Linked DNA regions of Homo sapiens: region 2 is linked to region 1. The links are contacts of gene promoters, found by promoter capture Hi-C in human tissues and cell types (Jung and others, 2019). All regions are on one chromosome and are shown on one strand. Each heading gives the region's core, a stretch centred on a gene start or on the middle of the fragment in contact. The rest is flanking DNA. Distances are from core to core; before and after follow the strand shown. Region 1 holds the start of TRIM62 (tripartite motif containing 62). Region 2 has its middle 36 kb from the start of TRIM62.

Evidence for each region. Contacts are between HindIII fragments. The study calls those that stand out against the background at their distance.
Region 2: a contact is called between a fragment that was not itself captured here and the fragment with the promoter of TRIM62 in region 1, in 1 of the 25 tissues and cell types used here (aorta).

The regions. Positions count from the first base shown.
Region 1 is chr1:33,179,945-33,183,753 of GRCh38, reverse strand. It overlaps TRIM62 (tripartite motif containing 62), which reads left to right and starts at 1,711. Exons shown (of 5, transcript NM_018207.3): 1 at 1,711-2,729. The coding sequence starts at 2,322. It also overlaps a transcript of ZNF362 not described here. RefSeq lists silencers at 1,537-1,846, 2,077-2,146, 2,737-2,936 and an enhancer at 3,019-3,188. The HindIII fragment of the contact is 6,299 bases long and covers 1-3,809 here.
Region 2 is chr1:33,216,015-33,219,823 of GRCh38, reverse strand. It overlaps a transcript of ZNF362 not described here. Among named protein-coding and RNA genes, the nearest start is that of TRIM62, 36 kb to the right of the region's middle. RefSeq lists an enhancer at 1-416. The HindIII fragment of the contact is 7,640 bases long and covers 1-3,809 here.

The sequences.
Region 1 (3,809 bases), core at 462-2,961:
AGCATTGCCACCAAACATATCCCAGCAAAGGGGGCAGACTGTTTTGCAAAGTAAAGAGACCATTTCCTGAAAACCCCTCTCTGCCATAGGCTTCCCCTTTAGTTTTTCAGGCTGGACCTGCCCAAACCGTCACTGGCAAGAGGAATGAGACCACCATAATGGACTTGGACCAAACAAGACTCACTCCATGAGACCACCATAATGGACTTGGACCAAACAAGACTCACTCCTGGAAATGGGCTGGGGTCAGCCTTCCTTGGGTCACTTGGGGAAGGGGGCCACCTGACCAAAATCAGGGCTCTGCCCATAAGAAAATGTTGAGAAACTGCTGTTGCATGAGCAACCAACTATTTTTCTCGCAATGATGGAGATTCTGGGCCAGATGAGGGTGTGATGGAGAAAGTGTTAACCATAGAGAACTAAACTGAGAGCTTTTTCATAAACTGTACCTCAATAAAGTTTAACACCAATGAAGATATTTCTGGAGGAGGCAGAAACTGGTAGCCACCCTCTATGGCTCATTTCCCTCACCCCCGTATCCAACCATCACCAAATGTCACCGTGTCTGTACTTGCAATACCCTAGTCTTCTCTCCTTACCCACTGCTGAGGCCCCAGTTCGGGTCTCACCTCCTGCAGGCACGATGACAACAGCACCTTAGGGGTGCCCAGTCTTTCCTTCCTCCTGCAACCCAGGGCGTTGATGCGGTTATTCAGCTACACACCTTTACTGTGTGCTGAGTGCTGTGCATCCGCAGACACATTGGAAAAGCTCCCTGTCTTCTTCACCTTGCAGATGGTATAATGATTATCTCCAAGACTTCCTGAAACCCAATCGGACCAGGTCATTCCCTTGCCTGAAAGCCCCATGCCTTCAAGAAATTCTTTACCATGACCCACAATGCCCTCCAGCCCACCCAGGCTCCTTCTCCACCCCACCCCCAACAGTACAGAATTACTAGCACTTCCTTCACTGCGCCCTCCCCTTTCACGCCTCTATGCTTTTGCACAGGCTGTCTCCTCTGCCTAGAAATCCCTTATCCCCTCTCCATCTGGCACACAAGACAAGTTCTCCTATTACTTTTTCTCCCTCTCTCCTGCTCCACCCCTCACCGCCTTACACACACACACACACACACACACACACACACACAAATACAGCACTCCAGAATTGTTTGCCAATGGAGGCAGCCTCCGGGGCCAGATGTTAGCCAGGGCTTTCCAAACTTCTCCCCAAGCACTCCTTAAGAAAGTGAAGAGGAAATGGGACCCCAGGGCTTAGGAGTGTGAGGGCCTTGAACTCGCTCTAAGCAAGCAGGGCATTTCAAGAGTTTTATCTTTATATTTTATGCAGAAGTTGTATTCCAAATATATTCTTGTTCGTTTTAATACAAAATATGATTTTTTCTACATCTTCAAATCGATGATCCAGAAAGATGCTCCTTGTTTATTTGTTGTGCTCTCAAATTAGCTGCTCCGCCTCGCCGCGGGGACCCTAAGCGAGACCTGGATGCAGTTCCAAGTACACACCCCGAAGGAACAGCTGGGCTTCGCTTCCCTGGGAGCTGGAGGATGGTGGGGGTGGGGCGGGGTCAACCGGCTGGTGGCCCCGCCCCTCCCCCGCCCGCTGCGGGGGCGGAGTTGCTTGGGTCCCGCCCACGGGGGCGGGGAGGCAGCCGCGGCCACCGGCAGCTCGGATTCGGCTGGTTCCGGGTTGAGAGGCTGCGCTGGACCGAAGCGGTGGCTGCTAAGCTCGCGGGGGTAAGGGGTCGCGCTGGGCCAGGGTTTGGGGCCGGGATCCGGCAGCTGAGCGGGCCGGCACCCCTCCTCTTCTCTGCCGGTCACAGCCAATGTACGGCTCGGCCTGGCTGCCCCCTCCCCCAGGATTCCCCATCCCCAGCTTCTCGCCCTCCCCGCACCGCCCCCACCCCGGGATTTCGACCCCCTTAAGGGCTCCACCCCGCTCCGGGATCCCCTTCTCCCAGCTCCTATCCCTTAGGACTGCCCCGCCCCCTAGAACCTCCCCGTCAGGATCTCCGTCCCTCAGCCGCTCACAGCCTCCTCCCAGCGCCCATCGCCTTGAGCTGCCCACTACCTCTAGACTGCCCTCCCGGGCTGGCGTCCCACGGAGTCTCAGCCGCGCACCCCTTCCTCGCGTTACCCTCCTTCCGGACAGCACCCCCTCCCTTCTCCGGTAGCTCCTACCCCTGCCTGTGCGGGCCTCGTCCCCGCGCCCAGCCCTCGGTGCTGCCTCCGACAGCGCCGCGCTCTCTCAGCCGCCCCCCTGCCCCTCGGGCCCCCCTCTCTGCTGCCCCTGGCGCCATGGCGTGCAGCCTCAAGGACGAGCTGCTGTGCTCCATCTGCCTGAGCATCTACCAGGACCCGGTGAGCCTGGGCTGCGAGCATTACTTCTGCCGCCGCTGCATCACGGAGCACTGGGTGCGGCAGGAGGCGCAGGGCGCCCGCGACTGCCCCGAGTGCCGGCGCACGTTCGCCGAGCCCGCGCTGGCGCCCAGCCTCAAGCTGGCCAACATCGTGGAGCGCTACAGCTCCTTCCCGCTGGACGCCATCCTCAACGCGCGCCGCGCCGCGCGACCCTGCCAGGCGCACGACAAGGTCAAGCTCTTCTGCCTCACGGACCGCGCGCTTCTCTGCTTCTTCTGCGACGAGCCTGCACTGCACGAGCAGCATCAGGTCACCGGCATCGACGACGCCTTCGACGAGCTGCAGGTGCGCTACCCGGCCTGCCTGGGGAAGGGGCGGGGCCGGGCTGGAGGTGGGGCCGGGCGGGGGGTGGGGTCAGGGCTGGACCGCGGGCCAGGCCCAGTCAGAATGGTCCTGGGGCGGGGCCGCCAGCAAGGTCAGGGCCCTATCAGGAGTAACGCGGGGCAGGGAGGGGCGGGGCCGCCGCATGGCGGGGCCGTGGGGGCGGGGCCTTGGGCAGTCCGGACCCTGAGGGATCTGAGACAGACCTGGAGTACCGGCTGGTCCGCGGTTAGGGAGAAGTCGGGGATGCGGATGGGATGGCGGAAACAAGTGAGATCAGAACTGGACCAGATACTGGGCTGGGGCAGGGTTGTGGACGAACCGGAATCAGAGTTGGGCAAAGGCAGGGCCACTGTCAGACTGAGGGCGAGGTCGCGAGGATGGGTCTGTATTAAACCGGGTAGCTGAGCTCTGGCAGGCTGGGGGTTCTGTGGGGGCGGAGACCGGATCAGATGTGCATCAGGACTAAGAGGAGTACGGGGGCTAGAATGTGCTGGACAGGTGAGGGTGAAACCTAATAGAGTGGTATAAGTTAGGGTGCCAAAGTGCTGAGAGGGCAGGTTTGAGTACCGAGGGTTAGGCCAAGGTGTATGAGGGGTTAAGACTGAGATCAGGTCCGGATACTCTACAACAAGTTTAGATTTAAGCCAGAGTAGAGGCCAGGTTGAGTGGGGCCAGGACTTAAAGGTAAAGATTTGGAGAATAAGGCCCAGATGTAAGGTGATTCAAGAAGGGAGGGGCTAGACCTCTAGGAGTCTCTAGAGGTTTTTGATGACCTCTTTGGCTCTGTCCCCCACATCAGGACTTTTGAAGACTAAGTGAAACGGTACATGCAGAGTGACCTGAGCATAGTTGGCATAGAACTCTAATCGGTCTCCCTTAAGACTTCCTGTCTTCACTGACAAACTCCTACTCAACTTTTATTGAGCCTTGCTCAAATATCCTCTCCGTGAAGCCTTCTCCAAGTTCCACTGGTCAAACAAACAAACAAACAAACAAAAACATTAGAACTGCATTTCCCCAAATGCTCTCTATTAATAAGTG
Region 2 (3,809 bases), core at 957-3,456, 36 kb before region 1:
CCCTGGGCAGGGATAGACCCAGGTTTTTCAGGTGTGAGAGATGGGGAGAGGTCAGGCTAGAGCTGTGATTTGCCACTGCTGAAAGCATCCTGGAAGTCCCTCCAGCACCTCAAACTCAGCAGAATTCAAGCAGAACTTACCCCATGTCAAAACTGCCCCTACTCCTTGGCTGTCCACACAGTCCCTCAGATAGGAAACCTGGGCATGCCCCGTCTCACCCCTCTCCTGGCCAGCACATCTCACCCACGGCCATGTGCTGGCCTTTTCTGCCTGGGAACACCATATCTTCCTGTTGGGCCCTGCTGCCCATGCTACCTGGTTAGGTCTTCACGAGTCCTCCCCTTCCTCGCTGGGCTCCTGCCCTGCAATCTCCCTCCATACTACCCAGTGAATCTTTCTTAGACACAGAATTAATCAAACATGTGGGCAGGCTTGAGACAGCAGGAGCCAACTTGTCTCTGGTCCGCCGATGAATGAATGGCGGGCAGAGGTTGGGAAGTGGGCTGGGCAGGCCCACTGTGGGCTCACACTCACTGAGCGCCAACCGTACACTTTACCGTCATCATACCCAGTGAAGGTGGGTACCACTGGACCCATTTCACAGATGGGGAAATTGAGGGTACAGAGGTCATGAATGTCACACCCAGCCCCCAGCCAGGAGATGACAGAGTTGGATTTTGAACTCCAGTCTAACTTCAGAGCCTGATTCTCTTCAATGTTTAGAGGTTATCTCTAGAGACTAAGGGGAAATAATTTGTGTTTGGGGCCCTTAAGGGTCAGTGAATCAAGTGGCTTCCTGAGAAAGGAAGGAAGTCTCTTGCGGGGGGGCAGGGGGTGGTGTATGTGTGTGTGTGTGTGTGTGTGTGTGTGTGTGTGTGTGTGTGTGTGTGTATGTCCAGCTCCTGGGCAGACCTGTGCGTCCAGCCTGAAAGTGAATGTTGCTGCCACTGCTGCCCTCCACTGACCAGAGGCAGAACTGTTCCAATCTCTTGGGAATCTGACTTCACAGGGGACTACATTGCCCAACTCCACGGACCCTGAGAAACCAGATGGGTTAAGGTTAAATCCCTAATATACAAAGAGTTCTTAAAAAGCAATAAGAAACAAACAAATTTAATCCAACAGAAAAAAATAGACAAAGGACATAAACAGGCCATTTCACAAAAGAAAACATCCAAATAGCCAATAAGCAGATGATCAATTTCACTAATAACCAAATAAATGATAATAAAAACAATAATGACAAGTTCACCTGTTAGATTACAAATTGACAATGCCTTCTTTTAGAAAGAGTGCTGAGAAACAGGCATTCATGTATTGTCAGTAGCAGTGAGATTGGTACTAGCTTTTTGGAGGGCAATATCAAAAATTTTAATATTCACATTTTTTTTTGAGACAGGGTCCAGGCTGGAGTGCAGTGGTGTGTGTAATCACAGGGCACTGCAGCCTCGACCTCCAGGGCTCAAGTCATCCTCCTGCCTCAGTTTCTCAAGTAGCGTGGACCATAGGCATACACCACCATGCCCAGCTAATTTTTAAATTTTTTGTAGAGGCAGTATCTCCCTATGTTGCCCAGGCTGATCTTGAACTCCTGAACTCGAGTGATCCTCCCACCTTGGCCTTCCAAAGTGCTGGATTATAGGCATAAGCTGCCATGCCCAGCCCCTACATTTTTCTACCTAACTGTTCTGCATCTAGAAATTTATCCTAAAAATGCAAAAGAATATATGTTTAAAGGTGTTTGCTGCTACAGTGTTTATGGTCCATCTATGGACTATAGAGAAAAATAGGGAGCCACTAAAAATAAAGACGTAACTGGATTCTGCTCATGTTCATGCTGATCACGTTTATACATTTATGTAAATTGTATATTTGTATGTGAGTATGTAATCAAAGTAAAACTTTGACAGTAATAAGATAAATATATTTTTTACATAGATATCCATGACATATTATGGAGTGAAAAACTGAGATTGCACCATAGTTAAAATACTATGATCCAGTTTACATAAAGTTGTGGGTGTGTGTTTGTGTGTGTGTGTGAACATAAGGAGTTATCTTGGAAGACTGTTACCAAAATCTTAATGGTGGCTACCTTTGTATAATAAGATTTCACTTAAATTTTACTTTCTCCTGTATACTTCTCTTATGGTTTAAATTTCTTTTTAATGAGTCTATATTATTTTAATAATGAAAACAATAAAGTTGTTTTCATTCTGAAGAAAGAGAACAGTCAGAAGATCTTGCTTCCCCAGGTGGGGGAGCCCAGTGGTAGGATGGGGGTGGCCCTGCTAGGACAGCAAGCTGGTGGTTGGGATATTAAGGTGGGGTGCAGAGATCTGGAGCTGCATCTGACCCAGTGTAAAGTTGCCTGGAATGAGTCCTAGATGGTCAGAGAGGAAAACGCCTGCTGGTCTAACACCCTCTGTGTGAGGCAGGAGTGACAGATTACATGGCTCAGATTGGGCAAGGGAATTGGCCAAGGTTACACAGTGAGCTAGTGCTGAATTGGGCACCAAAACCCAGGCCTTCAGACCCTAGGCCAGGGCTCCTTCCTCACTGCTCTCACTTCATAAGGTGGATCTGAAGGTCAGAAGTTAGATCAGGTTAGGCAGCAGGTTTCCACTGAGATGGTGCTGTTACTGATTTGCTGGGAGTACAATTATCTCCAATTTAGCCTCCTTAGCACTGAGCCAGGAAGTCATTGCTCCCTGGGAACATCTTTGTGCCACGTGCCTGTTCCTGATGCTGAGCTGGAAGCTGGGTTGTAAGGGATGGATGGTGGCCTCTCTCCATCCCCAGTCTTCCTGCCTCCAGAACCGCCTCAGCAATTCATTCTCTACACCACCCTAGGGGGATTCCCTGAAAACTCTACTCCCACGCGTCGCCTCTGCTTGGAAAAGCTCTCTGTGGTTCCCCACCGCCCTTATTCAAGGCCTTCAGTGATGTGAACCCACCCTCCATTTGCAGCCCTTGCCCAGCCCCTCCAGCCACCTGCACAGGGGGCCCATCCTATGTGCTGACTCTACCAAGTCTTTTTACCTTCCTGTACCTTGGCTCATGCAACTCTTTCTATTTATTATTATATTCCTGCCTTCTATAAGTGCGAAGCTTTTGATCCTTCTTTAAAATCATCCTAAATAAATGTTCTTTCCTCCAGGAAGCCTTCTTTGACTCCCAGAGGAATTTTTTTTTTCCTGTTTCTTTTTTTTTTTTTTTTTTTTGAGACAGAGTCTTGCTCTGTGGCCCACGCTGGAGTGCAATGGCACAATCTCGGCTCACTGCAACCTCTGCCTCCTGGGTTCAAGGGATTCTCCTGTCTCAGCCTCCTGAGTAGCTGGGATTACAGGCGCCTGCCACCACGCCTGGCTAATTTTTGTATTTTTAGTAGAGATGGGGTTTCACCATGTTGGTCAGTCTGGTCTCGAACTCCTGACCTCATGATCTGCCCGCTTCAGCCTCCCAAAATGCTGGGATTACAGGTATAAGCCATCGCGCCCGGCCCTTTTTTCTGTTTCTTAAGAGCATACTTTATTCATCTTTGTACCGTCTGTGGCTAGCCCTGTGCTTAGCATACAGTGAGCAGACAAGAGATGCTGGTCAAATGAAGAGTCAACTGCATTTAATTAAACTGTCTCATTTTCCCCTCCTCTCCCACCCCTTTTACTTTAGAATGCAAGGGATGGAAAAACTCTCTAAACTTTTTCAGAGGAGAAGAATATAGGAGGTCTTACATTTCACTTTCAGTATAAGTACAGCACTGGTCTTAGAGTTAAAGTATTATGGAAACGTTTGTTTTTATAAATATA